6 separate regions of the Homo sapiens genome follow, and all the other regions are linked to region 5. Evidence: promoter capture Hi-C in 16 types of primary human blood cells and fetal thymus (Javierre and others, 2016). All regions are on one chromosome and are shown on one strand. The core of a region is centred on a gene start or on the middle of the fragment in contact, and the rest is flanking DNA. Distances in the headings are between cores, read along the strand shown.

The links. Contacts are between HindIII fragments. The CHiCAGO score rates a contact against its expected background, and 5 or more counts as called.
Region 1: a fragment that was not itself captured here is called in contact with the fragment with the promoter of PHF10 in region 5 in 1 of 17 cell types (total CD4 T cells); the score reaches 5.8 in total CD4 T cells.
Region 2: a fragment that was not itself captured here is called in contact with the fragment with the promoter of PHF10 in region 5 in 2 of 17 cell types (M1 macrophages and erythroblasts); the score reaches 5.8 in M1 macrophages.
Region 3: a fragment that was not itself captured here is called in contact with the fragment with the promoter of PHF10 in region 5 in 1 of 17 cell types (fetal thymus); the score reaches 5.6 in fetal thymus.
Region 4: a fragment that was not itself captured here is called in contact with the fragment with the promoter of PHF10 in region 5 in 8 of 17 cell types (M1 macrophages, naive CD8 T cells, total CD8 T cells and 5 more); the score reaches 10.2 in M1 macrophages.
Region 6: a contact is called between a fragment that was not itself captured here and the fragment with the promoter of PHF10 in region 5, in 1 of 17 cell types (M0 macrophages). The highest score is 7.3, in M0 macrophages.

Annotation. Positions count from the first base shown.
Region 1 is chr6:170,571,177-170,573,876 of GRCh38, forward strand. It overlaps TBP (TATA-box binding protein), which reads left to right. Exons shown (of 8, transcript NM_003194.5): 7 at 234-328; 8 at 1,010-1,683. The coding sequence ends at 1,089. Among named protein-coding and RNA genes, the nearest start is that of PDCD2, 12 kb to the right of the region's middle. The HindIII fragment of the contact is 1,294 bases long and covers 604-1,897 here.
Region 2 is chr6:170,520,616-170,523,375 of GRCh38, forward strand. No RefSeq gene overlaps it. Among named protein-coding and RNA genes, the nearest start is that of PSMB1, 31 kb to the right of the region's middle. The HindIII fragment of the contact is 3,242 bases long and covers 1-2,760 here.
Region 3 is chr6:170,587,669-170,590,368 of GRCh38, forward strand. No RefSeq gene overlaps it. Among named protein-coding and RNA genes, the nearest start is that of PDCD2, 4.4 kb to the left of the region's middle. The HindIII fragment of the contact is 4,128 bases long and covers 1-2,700 here.
Region 4 is chr6:170,537,760-170,540,459 of GRCh38, forward strand. All of the region lies in intron 4 of PSMB1 (proteasome 20S subunit beta 1), which reads right to left. Among named protein-coding and RNA genes, the nearest start is that of PSMB1, 14 kb to the right of the region's middle. The HindIII fragment of the contact is 302 bases long and covers 1,178-1,479 here.
Region 5 is chr6:169,723,092-169,725,791 of GRCh38, forward strand. It overlaps PHF10 (PHD finger protein 10), which reads right to left and starts at 1,409. Exons shown (of 12, transcript NM_018288.4): 1 at 754-1,409. The coding sequence starts at 840. It also overlaps a transcript of DYNLT2 not described here. RefSeq lists silencers at 511-890, 991-1,230, 1,301-1,600 and an enhancer at 1,532-2,074. The HindIII fragment of the contact is 1,955 bases long and covers 497-2,451 here.
Region 6 is chr6:168,953,235-168,956,008 of GRCh38, forward strand. It overlaps LOC105378146 (a long non-coding RNA gene), which reads right to left. Exons shown (of 4, transcript NR_136250.1): 3 at 1-5. Among named protein-coding and RNA genes, the nearest start is that of LINC01615, 210 kb to the right of the region's middle. The HindIII fragment of the contact is 3,316 bases long and covers 1-2,774 here.

The DNA of each region.
Region 1 (2,700 bases), core at 1-2,500, 850 kb after region 5:
GGTAAAGTGATAGGAGGACAAATAGCCTTCCATCCAGTGGTTATCAACTGACGACTACAAGTCGGCCTCACTTGCTTTAATTATTCTATTCTATCCTTTGATGCTGCTTGAAGAACTGTGTTTTACCTCTTGACTAGTTTGTTTATTCAGTATTTTTCCTTGTACAGGTCCTCATTTTATCTAAAAGCACACAAAGCTCTTGATTTCTAAACTTTTTGCAATTTTCCTTCTAGTTATGAGCCAGAGTTATTTCCTGGTTTAATCTACAGAATGATCAAACCCAGAATTGTTCTCCTTATTTTTGTTTCTGGAAAAGTTGTATTAACAGGTAAGTTGTAACAGGAAGTAGTATCTGAAAGTTTGTAAGTGTTTTGAGTATGGCATTTTCTCAGTGCTGAAAAGAAATTTCAGTGTTCGGACAGTGGGCTAGCTTCTTGTACAAAGGCCTCCCACCCAAAGTCTGATGAGAAACGTGCCCACTAAAGGCACAGTGAGAGCAGGGAAGTCTGACCACAGCTCTGCAAGCAGACTTCCATTTACAGTGAGGAGGTGAGCATTGCATTGAACAAAAGATGGCGTTTTCACTTGGAATTAGTTATCTGAAGCTTTAGGATTCCTCAGCAATATGATTATGAGACAAGAAAGGAAGATTCAGAAATGAGTCTAGTTGAAGGCAGCAATTCAGAGAAGAAGATTCAGTTGTTATCATTGCCGTCCTGCTTGGTTTATGGCCTGGTTCAGGACCAAGGAGAGAAGTGTGAATACATGCCTCTTGAGCTATAGAATGAGACGCTGGAGTCACTAAGATGATTTTTTAAAAGTATTGTTTTATAAACAAAAATAAGATTGTGACAAGGGATTCCACTATTAATGTTTTCATGCCTGTGCCTTAATCTGACTGGGTATGGTGAGAATTGTGCTTGCAGCTTTAAGGTAAGAATTTTACCATCTTAATATGTTAAGAAGTGCCATTTCAGTCTCTCATCTCTACTCCAACTTGTCTTCTTAGGTGCTAAAGTCAGAGCAGAAATTTATGAAGCATTTGAAAACATCTACCCTATTCTAAAGGGATTCAGGAAGACGACGTAATGGCTCTCATGTACCCTTGCCTCCCCCACCCCCTTCTTTTTTTTTTTTTAAACAAATCAGTTTGTTTTGGTACCTTTAAATGGTGGTGTTGTGAGAAGATGGATGTTGAGTTGCAGGGTGTGGCACCAGGTGATGCCCTTCTGTAAGTGCCCACCGCGGGATGCCGGGAAGGGGCATTATTTGTGCACTGAGAACACCGCGCAGCGTGACTGTGAGTTGCTCATACCGTGCTGCTATCTGGGCAGCGCTGCCCATTTATTTATATGTAGATTTTAAACACTGCTGTTGACAAGTTGGTTTGAGGGAGAAAACTTTAAGTGTTAAAGCCACCTCTATAATTGATTGGACTTTTTAATTTTAATGTTTTTCCCCATGAACCACAGTTTTTATATTTCTACCAGAAAAGTAAAAATCTTTTTTAAAAGTGTTGTTTTTCTAATTTATAACTCCTAGGGGTTATTTCTGTGCCAGACACATTCCACCTCTCCAGTATTGCAGGACAGAATATATGTGTTAATGAAAATGAATGGCTGTACATATTTTTTTCTTTCTTCAGAGTACTCTGTACAATAAATGCAGTTTATAAAAGTGTTAGATTGTTGTTATACCTTGTAAGAGTCATGTGATCATACTGTTTTCTACAAAGTTGTATTTTAGATATAATGCCTGAAACCATTTTGGTGTTTGCTTCAGTCAGTATTTCATTGTATGCTGCAATGAAAACAGATTAATGATCTGAGAACCTTCCATATATTGAGCAACTCCTGTTTTCTAGGTATTTTGCATACAATGCCTGGAATCCTCACAAAGCTTCAGTTACGTTTTGTTCCTCTGTTGGAGGTGAGGAGATAAGGAAGCCCCAGCTGAGGGACTTGGCTGAGGTTACACAGCTAGTAAGTGGTAAAAATGAGTGAGTCCTTCAGGTGTAGAAGCTGGTGCCCTATCCACAGGCTGCCAACTCTCTGCAGTAACTTTTTTTTGCTTGTTTTGCAGTTTTTTTCTCATGGACTATCAGGTGGACATTTGTGGGTTCTTAGGTTTTATTGTTAGAGTGGTTTGTTGTTTTTAATTGTAAAAGTACATCTTCAGCTGACTCAGGAATAAAATCAGAAAGGGGAGGTCCTTCCTTCCTTTCTCTTCTGCCTCTTTCCCCAAGATAACGACCAGATTAGTGGGTATCTTCTAAGCCCTGTTCTGTCTATCTTCTGGGCATGGCATTTGATCCCATTTTTGGAAAAAAGAAATAATACATTCAATTTTATAGCTTTCCCTTTTTTCAGTCAATATATCATAAACCTATTTCCATGATTGGGAATCTAGGATACTCTTCTTAGGTACCTTCACTTACTGAGCTATTCCTGTAATTATGGTCATTTACATGACCTCTAGTTTTTCAATATCATCAACAGCGCTGCAGGGAACATCCTTGTATGTGTATTTTTCGGATGAGTGCAGGTATTCATGTAGTAAACTTTCCTAGAAGAGGAACTAAAGACTATACATTCTGAGTTTTAATCAGTTGATACCAGATTGCAGTCCAAAGAGAACGGTGCATGAAATGCCCTTTTCTTGCATTTTCCAATCATTAGTGATGCCAATAATGTATGGATT
Region 2 (2,760 bases), core at 20-2,519, 800 kb after region 5:
ATTGATAAACAATTTCAGTAAGGTTGTAGAATACAAAGTCAATGTATAAAAATCAGTAGCATTTTTATACACCAATAACATTCAAGCTGAGAACCAAATCAAGAACATGATCTCATTTACAACAGCCACAAAGAAAATAAAATACCTAGGAATACATCTAACTAGGAGGTGAAAGATCTCTACAAGAAGAACTACAAAACACTGCTGAAAGGAATCATAGATGATACAAACAAATGGAAAAACATTCCCTACCCATGGACTGGAAGAATCAGTATCATTAATCTGGCCATACTGCCCAAAGTAATCTACAGATTCAATGCTATTCCTATCAAACTACCAATGTCATTTTTCAAATAACTAGAAAAAACTACTGTAAGATTCATATGGAACAAAAAAAAATCCAAATAGCCAAAGCAATATTAAGCAAGAAGAACACAGCCAGAGGCATCACATTATCCGACTTCAAACTATACTATAATACTACAGTAGCCAAAATAACTTGGCACTGGTACAAAAACAGACACATAGACTAATGGAACAGAATACAGAACCCAGAAATAAAGCCACACACCTACAGCCATCTGATCTTCAACAAAGTCAACAAAAATAAGCAATGGGGAAAGGGCTCTCTAAACAATAAATGGTGCTGGGTTCGCTGTCTAGTCATACACAGAAGAATGAAACTGGATTCCTACCTTTCACCGTATACAAAAATTAGTTCATGTGGATTAAAGATTTAAATGTAAGACCTCAAACTGTTAAGAATCCTAGAAGAAAACCTAGGAAAAACCATTCTAGACATTAGCCTTAGGAAAGAACTTGTAATTCAGTCCTCAAAAGCAATTTCAACAAAAACAAAAATTGACAAGTGGGACATAATTAAAGGGCTTCTGCACAGCAAAAGAAACTATCAACAGAGTAAACAGACAACCTACGGAATGGGAGAAAATATTCAAAAAACACACATCTGACAAAGGTCTAATATCCAGAACCTACAAGGAACTTAAACAAATGAACAAGCAAAAAACAACCCCATTAAAAAATGGGCAAAAGACATGAAAAGACGCTCCTCAAAAGAAGACAGACATGCAGCCAACAAACGCAAAAAAATGCTCCATATCACTAATCATCAGAGAAATGCAAATCAAAACCACAATGAGATACCATCTCACACCAGTCAAAATGGCTATTACTAAACAGTCAAAAAACAACAGATGCTGTGATGCTGTGGAGAAAAAGGAATAATTATACACTGTTGGTGGGAAGGTTAATTAGTTCAGCCACTATAGAAAGCAGTTTGAAGAGTTCTTGAAAAAGTTAAAACAGCACTACAATTTGGCCCAGCAATCCCACTACTGGGTATATATCCAAATGAAAACAATTCATTCTACCAAAAAGACACATGCACTGGGCACAGTGGCCCACGCCTGTAATCCCAGCACGTTGGGAGGCCGAAGTTGGAGGATGACCTGAGGTTGGGAGTTTGAGACCAGCCTGACCAACATGGAGAAACCTTGTCTCTACTAAAAATACAAAATTAGCCAGGTGTGGTAGCGCATGCTTGTAATCCCAGCTACTCAGGAGGCTGAGGCAGAAGAATTGCTTGAACCCAGGAGGCAGAGTTTGCACATCATTGCACTCCAGCCTGGGCAACAAGAGCGAAACTCTGTCTCAAAAAGAAAAAAAGACATGCACACACACATTCATCACAGCACTACTGACAATAGCAAAGACATGGAATCAACCTAGGTGCCTATCAACAGTGGATTAGATAAAGAAAATGTGGTACATATACACTATGGAATACTATGCAGTCATAAGAAATGGAAATGGACAGAGAAAAAGAAGGCGGGGGACGGGATCAGAGGCAGCTTCACAGAGAGGCACACTTGAGTCAAAACTTGACTCACGTTTGAAAGATGAATGTGAGTTTCCAGGCATATGGGAGCTAGGGGTGCATGGAGGGGTTGTGGGTCCCCGCTGGGAAAATAGCCTGTAAGGCATAACAGGAATAACTGTGATTCACTGAGGACGTACTGTGTTAGGCACTGGAACAAGAGCTTTACAAACATTATCTCATGTACTCTTCACTGGGTGCCTATGAGGAAGGTACTATCATCCACATTTCATAAGTGAGGGAGCAAGGCCTACGGACTTCCACTAACTGCCTGAGGCCACACAGACAGGAAGAGATGGGGTAGGCCTGATTCTCTGTCTTTTGGATTCCAGAGCCTACAACCACTTCAGTATCTTTGGGCAACGATAAGCAACTTGCTGTTGCCAGAAAAGTGAGGGTCAGAGACCCTTAAAAGTGAGGGGAGGTGACCAGCCTCTGACAGTACACGTAGCAGAGGAGCTTGGCTGCCTCCCGTAGGCTGTGGTGGAGCACAGCGGCCTGAGTAGCATGGGGAGAAGCCTAACCTGCCTTTCCATTGCTCACTCTGGCAGCCTGTGAGTGCGCAGCCCCGGACAGGAGCCCATCCCAGGGACTGGCTGCACAGCTGTTCTGCAAAAGTAAAGAAACCACGTCTCCTCAGTCCTTACACCTGACTTCTTGTAAATGTCCAGTTCTTGTTAGGTTTTCTAACATATCGCCCCTGGACTCCTGTTCTAACCTGATGTCTTATAAACATTCAGGGCTCCTTGGAAAACCCAGGGTTTCTCTGAGGCCCCAAGTCATCCACCTGCTGAGTGAGCCCTGCTCAGATGCATTCTGGAGGGAAAAATCACATAAATTCCCTTCCAATCTATAACTCTTCT
Region 3 (2,700 bases), core at 142-2,641, 860 kb after region 5:
CAACTCGAAGTGGGGAGGGGCTTCCAGGTCACAGGTAGGTGAGAGACAAATGGTTGCACTCTTTTGAGTTTCTGATTCACCTTTCTAAAAGAGGCAGTCAGACATGCATTTATCTCAGTGAGCAGAGGGATGACTGAATGGAATGGGAAGCAGGTTTGCCCTAAGCAGTTCCCAGCTTGACTTTTCCCATTAGCTTAGTGATTATGGGATTCCAAGGTAATTTCCTTTCACATTTCCCCCCTTTTCTTTTTTAAAATATTTTGGAGAAAGCATTTTTGAAGAAAATAAGTTTCTGTTCCCAGGTTTTATCTGCTCTCTCATGGCTAGGATGGTTTTTTCCTAGAAGGGTAGGTCCTGAGTTATTAGGAAAGCTCATTTTTAGAAGGTTGTGAAGTCTAATATCCTATCAAGAGAAAATTTGGGGAGGAAGGGAGAACAATAAGAACAATCTTGGAAAATTGATCTAGGCCACATTACTCTGAAGTCCATACATCAGTAAGCAGGTATGAAAGTGGCTTATGTATGTAAATAGGTTCCCATTATTTTCTTCTGAAGTTTAAGTTGTCTACTTCAGTTCACAGGGCTTCACGAAAGTTAGTTTTAAGTGACTTAGTTTAGTGACAGCTTAGTTTTAAGTGACTCCAAATTAGGAAAAATGGGGAAAAAAAGAAGGAAAAAAATTGAAAACATTATTTTGAAGACTTGTAGCCCACAAAAATTAGAATTTGGTCCAAACTGTAGAAAATGATAAAAATTGAAAAACATTAGGCAAGACTAGAATCTAACAACTGGTGGACTATAGTTTTCCAGTCTCTAGTTTCCCATTTATACTAAAGACAAATCATGATAGGTTTGCCTTATTATATTTGGCCGAATTATTTGTATACAGTGCAGCAAGAATAATTATTTTTTAACATTGGCTTTTAAATTGGCTTTGATGGAACTTTGTTCCATAGAGGGTATTTCAGATAAGACTTTTTAAAAGCTGAGCCCAGCCATGGATTTGTGCCATCAAATACCTGTGAGTTTGGTGATCCTCTCCTCTTGAGGTTCCAAGATAAACTTGAGGCTCCTGGGCCTGTCAGAAAGTGACATTCTTTACTTACCACAGGTCAGGAACCCTGTACAGGAGCTGTGTAGACAAAGTTATGAGGACGGTTTTTCCAAGGGGGTTTAATTGGCTCCGTAAGTCAAGTAAAAGCATTGGTAAACAACCAGTTTCCCCAATTGTGTCCTGTTACAAATGAAAACAGATTATTAGTGCACTTATGCAAATAACTGTATTGTCATAAGTTAAGAATACTTACAGTTTCCAAATTCTGGAGAAATCGGGTAGAGAGAACCAAATGTGCTCCAAATTTTGTTCATAGGAGTATGTGTTACTCAATTGTTAAAAGCTGCAGATAGCCTGACCAACATGGTGAAACCCTGTCTCTACTAAAAATACAAAAAATAGCCAGGCATGGTGGTGCGCACCTGTACTCCCAGCTACTTGGGAGGCTGAGGCAGGAGAATCACTTGAACTTGGGAGGTGGAGGTTGCAGTGAGCCGAGATCGCACCGCTGCACTCCAGCCTGGGCAACAGAGCAAGACTCCATCTCCAAAAAAAATTATCTTGTTTTTATCAATCTTTCTTAAATGTATAGCTCACATTTATTTCAATGTTTAAAATGAGAAATATTTGGGGTCTTTATTTAGACGTTTGTTGATGTTTTTGTGACCAGAAATATGTTACAAGAACTTAACTCTTGTTTATATCAATCATCCCATGGCAAATTGGTTTTATTACCAGTAGTGTTGCTTAAAGTCACAGTTTCCAAGAATCTATCCATGATAAATGAGGACTTACTGGACTTAATAGTACTGAATTGTACACATAAAAATGGTTAAGATGATAAATTTTATGTTATGTGTATTTTACCACAATTTTTAAAAATGAAAAAAAGAAATCCTGGGGAATGATATGTTCAAAGAAGGCTTTGAAAAGCTCTGATATATTCCAGAAATCTAGACAGCTACACAGGGGCAGGGCTTTGTGCGTGGCCATGAAAGACCTGAGGCAGCTGTAATGTTTTACATTTGACTCTGGGGTTCTGTGCCATCAGAAAGTGAAGGCTAAAGCAGACTTGGACTGCCAGAGTGTTGAAGATGTGTCCCAGCACATACAAAGCCACTCTACAAAGGCTGGGAGACATAGGTTCAAGGCATTTAAGGAAATCTCTATCTAATCATTAGCTGACCACTCAGCACACTAAGCAAAGACTGAAAGACACATGACAAAGAATACAGACTTCATAGAATTAGTCAGGGAAAGTCACTAAAAAATTCAACAGCAACAACAACAAAACCCTTGAGAGGGAAGGGTCTGGCTTACAGTTACCACATCCTAGTCTTTAAAATATTCAGTTTTGAGCAAAAATATGAGATACACAAAGAAACAAAAGCCCATGCAGAGGAAATTCTGAGACCAGCTCGATCGGGGAGACCCTAACCCAGTGGCACTAGGGGATATTAAAGACACACACACACAAATATAGAGGTGTGAAGTGGGAAATCAGGGGTCTCACAGCCTTCAGTGCTGAGAGCTCCAAACAGAGATTTACCCACATATTTATTAACAGCAAGCCAGTCATTGGTATTGTTTCTATAGATATTAAGTTAACTAAAAGTATCCCTTATGGGAAACGAAGGGATGTGCCG
Region 4 (2,700 bases), core at 79-2,578, 810 kb after region 5:
AAATAATCCAAGCCATGGTAGTAGGTAAGGACCCGTAAGAGAGTAGGGAGAACACAGAGAGAGATGGTGAGGTTTCTGTAGGACACATCAGCCAAACTCAAACAGTCATTTGTAAGAAAGTCTTTATTTCTTGGCTCTCCTAAGCTAACGAAGAGGAGAACTTGAAGGAAAGCACGACTTATGTATATAGACAGGTCCAAGGGACACATCCGCAAGACACAGTAAAACGAAGAGAATTCTGTAACCTGTAAAATACGATACTGCTTTTGTTTAAAAGAATAAGAAAACTATTTGTACAAGCACAAAAAAGTCTGGAAAGATAAGTAACTGTGGCTGGTCATCTTTGAGCTCTGAATTAGAGGCAAGAAAAGAAGGGAATTAATTCATGTGCTTCTATCTTATTTGAGTTTGTTACAAAGAACACAGGTGATTCTACAATCGTTAAAAAGGCCTGTTAAAAACAACCGTGTTCTGGGTATGAGAAATCACGAGTCATTTACAAGGTATGATTTTTTAAAAACATAACTGATTTAGAAAACACATTATATACCAGAACTCAGTACCCTGGGAGATGTGATATAGGGACAATCTCCTTACTAACCATGTACAACTGCCACTGTTAGCTTTGTATGTTTTCTACTATAGAACTGCGTAAACTTGGCCAGGCGCGGTGGCTCACGCCTGTAATCCCAGCACTCTGGGAGGCTGAGGTGGGCCGATCACGAGGTCAGGAGTTCGAGATCAGCCTGGCCAACACAGTGAAACCCCATCTCTACTAAAAATACAAAAATTAGCTGAGCATGGTGGCACGTGCCTCTATTCCCAACTACTTGGGAGGCTGAGGCAGGAGAATCGCTTGAACCCAGGAGGCGGAGGTTGTGGTGAGCCGAGATCATGCCACTGCACTCCAGCCTGGGCAACAGAGCGAGACTTGGTCTCAAAAAAAGAAAAAGGATTGTGTAAACTGAATTCTCTGGTGGAGAAGGCACCATCTGAGGTCACCTAAGAAACTGGGAAGTATTTTTGCTGGAAGCAAGCTTGGGACAAGACATGAGATCACAGCAGGCAATCCACTAACCTCAATATACAAAAAAAGAAAGAGATGTAAGGTGTAAAGGCAGAAAAATGATTGTATCTCTCATGAGGATGACAGGCCACAAGTAAACTGAGGCCCAAAAGCTTTACCCAAGGATGGAACCAATCTCAGAAAACCACACACAACAAATTTAAAAAAATAAACCAAAGAAAGGGTGGGCTATGTCCAAGAACACAGCTTTAAAGACCCCCTAGAAGAAGCAAGAGAGACACTAGTAAAATCAGTATAAAACAGCAAAAATCAATAAATAAAAACAAAAATAAATGTAGAATGGCATGAATCTTGATTACAAAGTGCTTTTCCTCATCAAAGTAAAATCCAAAAAGCACAATCATTTCAATGTAAAAAATAAAATCAGACAAGTCTTAAAAGAAATACAGCTAAGCTTTGGATGGGAGAAGTTTTTCTAACAAGGCAAGAAACTGAATGTCATAAAGAAATGATTGACAGATTAGACTGTATGAAACACAGCAATTTCTGTGTAGCAAAAGGCACCACCCAAAAGAGACAAATAACACTCTTGGGAGTATCTATAATATCACAGACATTTGACACAGTCGAATGTAGTTCTTGAAAATCAGTAAGAAGAAAACTAACCTGCAAATAAGGAAATGGGCAACAGTTAATATATGAATCAGTCTCCAAAGAGGAAATTTATAAAGTCAATAAACATATGAAAACATGCCCAAGAATATATATAAATGAAAATAATAAACTGTTCAATAGGCAAAAAGATGTTTCAAAATGTGTTAATTCTAATACTGGGAAGGTTATATAAAATCGGGTACTCAGGGTACTGGCGTATCCTTCAGAAAGAGTATACTCAACAAAATACAAAAAAAAATTTATCTGACCCAATACTTCAACTACTCGAAGTTTATTCTAGCAAGACAAGCATAATTGGGGAAGTACACAAAAATGTATGTACAAGGATGTTCATCATAGTGTTTATATTAAGAAAACAGGAAGCCAAAATGCCCTTTAGAGGACTGGTTAGGTAAATGATGCTATGTATTACAGCAGCAAAAACAGAAGACAAAAAAATTTTTTGTTAATTAAATACAAAAATCATTATGCATATAGCTTAGATCTCCTTGATAATACATAATGTATAGTTACAGAAAAACAGATACCAAAGTCCTACTTACATAAAACTGCATGAGTGTATGTATAAACATGTACTGATTGTTTTCACTACAGAAAAACTAAAGCCACTTTTAATTTGGGAGAAAAATTTTTAAAAGGCATGAGAGCAGCTAAGAGATTAAAGACAGAGAGGTTAGTGCAGACAGCGGTTGACACCAAGGGAAAGAGCTGTGGACCTTGCTGTCCTGAAGGTTTCAATATGGAGCACTGCTCTCCAGGTCCCTGCATCCACCAACACAGAAGACAGTAAAGGAAGTCTCCTGAGACATTAGCAGAGGCTCTGGACTTAGGGGACCAGGCTCTAGAGTGGCAAAGGGTAGGAGCAAAACACATGAAATGGAAAGTTGATGTAAACAAAACACAGACCTTCAGCCCCCTTCCTCCTCTGAGGCCTAAAAAGCTGCCAACCGGGCTTCTCTTCCTGTAGTCCCACCTCACCTCAGGAAAAAAGATTAAAG
Region 5 (2,700 bases), core at 159-2,658:
CACACCGCGCACCGCACGAAGGCTGGCTGGCTCTGCAGCATTCCAGTTCCCACCGCCTTCTAATTTCAATCCAATTTCAAGCTTCCAGGCTTTTAAAACATCATTCCTCCCTTCCAACTTTCTGTCACAAACTGCTAGCCTAACTTTAGAACCAAAACGTTTTGATGCGTGACACTACTGCTCATCTCCATTTTCTCCACAAGCACCAATTTCTTTTCACCTCCTCAAGCAGTAAAAAGTTTTAACAGACTTCCGCTGAAAACATCCGGACGCTTGCGTATTAACTTAGTTATTACAGTAAGTTCACTGAGTGTGTTGATTTTCCATATCGTTCGCCACTCGGTTTTTGCAGTAAGCGTTCAAACACTTCGGCAAACTATGCGCGGAATGAACGCTGAGCGAACGCGCGCTTCTGCAGGCCCCTCCGAGGCCAACTCTCTCGGCCCCGGGCGCGTTCCGTCCCACGGCTGGCCTAGGAGGAGGCGTTTTGGGGACAAGCTTGTCAAGCAGGGCCGGCTGCCAACTTCGGGGAAGCCGCGCCGCGTCCCCCGCCCGCCCGCACTTGTTGCTCGCTAGAGGCCGCGGGCTCACCTCGGGGCCCCGCCTCGCCGACCACCCCCGGTCTCAGGCGCGGCGCCCGGCCTGGGCCCACGCCCCCGAGACGCTGGGCGGCCGCCGGTGGGACTGGGCCCACGCCCCGGCACCCAGGCCCGGGACGGGGTCAGGGTCGGGTCGCACCGGCCGCTTCCTCACCTTCGGGGACTGCGCTCCGGGGGTGGCTGGGTCGCTGTCGCACGGCCGCGGGGACAGCGCAGCCCCGGGCCCGGCCGCCGCCGCCATCAGCCCGAGCGCCCCGCGCCGCCGCCGCCGCCGTCGCCTCCGCCTTGTCCCGGCCGCCGCCGCCGCTGCCGCCGCCGCCGCCGCCGCCGCCGCGCGGGCCCCCCGCCGCCCCGGCCCCGCCCCCTCCGCCCGCCCGCCCGGGGGCCGGCCCCTGCCGCCGCGCGCCCCGCGGCCCGCCAGCGCCGCCGCCACCGCCATGGCCGTCGCCAGCGCGCCGCCCGCGCGGGAGGGCGCCAAAGGCTGGGAGGGCGCGGGGCTGCGGGCCGGAATGGAGGAGGCCCAGCGGCGGCGGCGCTTCTCACGTCAGCCCAACCCGCCCGGCCGCGGCCACCGCCTCAGCACCGTTGCCCCCCACAGCTCCGCCGCTGGCCTCAGCGCCGCCGCGACTCCCTTCAGCCCCGCCACTCGCTCGCCTCAGCCCCGCCGCTCGCTCGCCTCAGCCCCGCGGCCGCCTCAGCCCCGCCGCTCGCCTCAGCCCCGCCGCTCGCCTCAGCCCCGCCGCTCCCCTCAGCCCCGCGGCCGCCTCAGCCCCGCCGCCGCCTGGCTCCCCACGGCCCGGCGTTGTACTCGGCCGCGGCTCCCCCCAGCCCCCGGCGCGCCCCACCTCCCGCCCGCCCTCCGGCCCGCCCCGGCCCGGCACGTCGCCACTTGGCGCGCTCGCAGCCGCCCCCTCCCCGCGGCCCCCGGCCCGGCCCCTCCGCGCGTCACCCTCGTTCCCTCCCTCTCTCCGCGCCCCCGCCGCGCCCCTCCCCGCCCCTCCCGGGGGTCCCCGCCCCGCCCCCTCTCTGCCGGGGGTCGCCCTGCCCGGAGCAGTCGCGCGGAGACTGCGCGGCCTCCGCCTCTACGCGCTCGCGGTCGCCGCTCCTCTCCCGCCTTTGTTCTCGGGTCGCCCCTCTCGCTGGTGGCGCTCCGAGAGAGCAGCGGAGCCACCTGCCCAGGCCACGCTTCCCCGAGCATCCGCAGCTGCACCCGGGGGCTGTCGGCGCCCGCCCCGGAGCGTGCGGGAGGCACAGCGGGAAGAAGTCGCTGAGATTCGGCCCTCGTGGCTTTGCGTGCCCGCGTGGTTGATGCCTCCGCCGAGAACGCGGTCGGCCGGGAGCCGGGGAGGAGCGTGGACGCCGGCCTGGCAGGTACCCCCGCGAGAACGTGGGAGCCGGTGTATTTCAGCTGCATTTATTACTGATCTCGGGCTGCACCAGGGCACTTGTAGGACCGCACTAAAAACAGCGGAAAGTGAGGAGCCAAGCCTGGGTCCGGGGCGGCCCGCCGTACAGCTGGCCTCACGGATTCCACTGCCTGCGCCTGCAGATGACTTGTTCTGGAGAGTAGAGAATGTTCTCGGATTTAAAGTACAATCCGGTTTCCTTTCCATTCATTATAGTTGCCTACACTCAACAAACAAAAGTTGGGAAAGATAAAGGGATTATTCTAGCGCGTCACATTGACAAACACCGACGTTAACACGCTCAGTCCAGCCTGACTCACTTGCCTCAGGTCAGAGAGGTCACCACTGACGACGCCGGGCCCTCAAGCCGATCCTAATCCAGCTTGGTTCTCTCAGCCTCAGCCAGACCATCCGTTCTTGCCTCTGTCCCACCACGTGCAGGTGTAAGCTTCCGCCGCACTTCTTGTCTGAATCTGCCAAGAAGAAACTGCATCTTTCAGCTAAATTCTTTTCACTGATCAGGGTAGAGTTTAGCGGTTTTTTTTTTAAGAAAAAAAACAAAAACAAAAAAAAACTCTTAAGCTATTTGGTACTCCTCTCCCTCCGGGATTCTGTCTCTAGATTGTGAAAGCTGTCAGAGAATGGAGTCAGGGAAAGCCGTGATGGGAAAGTTCTCACTAATAATTGCCTGATAT
Region 6 (2,774 bases), core at 109-2,608, 770 kb before region 5:
GATTGCTGTAAAATAAGTTGCATATATTGATGAATACTGATACAGTGACATATTGATTTCCCATGAAAACATGTGTTTCTGTAAGCAAAAGGCTTCCTCATGTTCCTTGGTGTCCATTCCTCCCTCTGTTCCTGTCCTGAGGCAACTGTCAGTTTGATTTCTGCCACTGTAAAATGGTTTTCATTTTCCAGAATTTCATGTAAATGGAGTCTTGCAGTGCATGCTCTTTCTTACTTTTAACCTGGCTGCTTTAATTTCACCTGACAATTTTGGGTGCATCGTCCACTCATTGCGTCCCCCAGTAGTTTGTTCCTTTTTATGGCTGAGTCGTTGCCCGTTGCATGAGCACAGCACAATTTATCTACCCATTTACCTGCTAATAGACATTTATATTATTTTCTATATTATTTAATATATATATTTAATATATTATTTAATATATTATTTTTATATTAAAAATAAAAAATGATATGAGCATTTGTATCCAAAAATTTGGGTCTCAAATGTATTAATTCTAGGAGTAGAATATCTGAGTCATATGGTAGGTGAATGTTTAATGTTTTATAAATTGACCACACTGTTTTCCAAAACGGTTTACATTCTCAGCCGAAGTGTATAAGAGTTGAAATTGCTCTGCATCCTCACCAGCGTTTGCTATGGTCATACTTTTAAATATTAGATATTCTCACACGAGTGCAATGGTATTGCTCTTATGGTTTTAACCTCCTTTTCCCTAAAGACTAGTACTGTTGAGCATCTTTTCCGTTGCTGATTTGCCATTTGTGCATCTTTTCTTCTTGTTGTTGTTGTTGTTGAAATATCCATTAAAATATTTGTCCAACTCAGTCCACAAATGTACTGAGTTGTTTGTTTTCTTACCATTGTGTTATAAATTATTTATATATTCAGAACAAAAGCTCTTTTTCAGATATTTATTTTGCAAATACTTCCTTTCAGTCTATTAAATAATTTTAATGATGTCTTTTGAAGAATAAAAGATTATAATTTTCATTTTTTTAAATTTATAATGTATAATTTCTTGTGTCCTCTTTAAGAAAACTTTGCCAAACAGAAGATCACTAATCTTATGTCCTATTTTTATTCCATAAATGCTATTAACTAATTATTATTGGCATTTATAGAAAATTCCTCCAGACAGCAGCAAAGTATATCTTTAAATTGAAATATTTCCCAAGATAGCTGATAGTCTGTGCCATAGACTAAACCTTAAACATGAAAAAAGAGTAGAAAACAAGCAAAGTATGTTCTGAAACCATAATGAAATTAACTGAAAATAAACAAAAATATATCTGGAAAATCTCTGAATATATGGCAAATAAACAACACACTTCTAAATGAATGATGGGTCAAAACTGAAGTCTTACACTAAACTAAAAATATTTTGAATCAAAAATTAAAATACAATATATCAAAATTATCAGGATGCAGCTAAGCAGTGCTTTGAGGGAAATGTAGAGTACTAAGTGCTTGTAATAGAAATCAGGAAACACCTAAAATCAGTAATATTACAAACATCTCTATGCCCAAAAGGAAACAACTTACATGAAAATTAAAAATGTTTCTACCTGTAATAATGAACATTTGGAATTTGAATTTTAAAAAAAATGTCATTTGCACAACATGGCTGGGCCTGGAGGACATGATTCTATGTGAAATAACCCAGACACAGAAAGAAAACAATTGAATGATCTCACTTATATGTGAGATATTTTTTTAAAAACCCTCAAACACACAGAGACAGAGTGTGTAACAGTGTTTCCATGGGTGGGGGTTGCAAGAGGACATGGGGGGATGTAGGTCAAAGGGATCAAAATATCATAGAAGGTAGGTGGGACAACAGTTCCGGAGACTGGATGCACAACGTGAGGGCCAAACTTCATAAAATTATACCATGTTAAGGATTTTTGTTAAATAAGTAGATTTTAGCTGCCTTTGTCACAAAAAATATGTGAGATAATAGATATGTTAATCTGTTTCACCACTGTAACCATTTTACCATCTATATTTCATAGCATCATGTTGTAAACCTCAAATATACACAATACTATTTAAAAGGCACTAAATCGTACTAAAATAAATGAAGCATTAGGTATAAATATAACAAAATAGGTGCAGCGTCTGTATGCTGAAAACTACAAAACACTGATGAAAGAAGGAAGAAATATCTAAGTAAATGAAGAAATATGCAGTTTCATGGATTTGAGGCTTAATATTTCAAAGATGTCCATTCTCCCATTTTCCCTGATTTGAGCAATGCAATCTCAATAAAATTCCAGCAAGTCTACTTTGTAAATAACAACAAGCTGAATCAAAATTCATGTAGAAAGGCAAAGAAACTATAATAATCACAAAAATTCTGCAAGAAAAACAAAACAAAATTCTGGAAAATGAACAAAACAACAAAAGTAAAGTACTCACATAACTTGATTTTAAGACACTATAACGTGACAGTAAACAATAAAATGTGGCATTGGCACTGGGATAGGCAATCAATGGAACAAAAGTAAGAATAGAGAAATTGACTCAGACATATATTGACAAGTGACTTTTGGCATAGGTACAAGTCATGTTAGGAAAGAAAGAGAATCCTTTCAGTTAATTGTGTTGGAACATTTGATATGCAAATGTCCCAAATAGGACCAATATATACCTTTTCCATATACAAACATTAATTCATAGTGGATTATAGATTTGAATGTAAAATGCAAAACCATACAACTTCTAGAAAAAAAACATAACAGAAAAGCTGCATG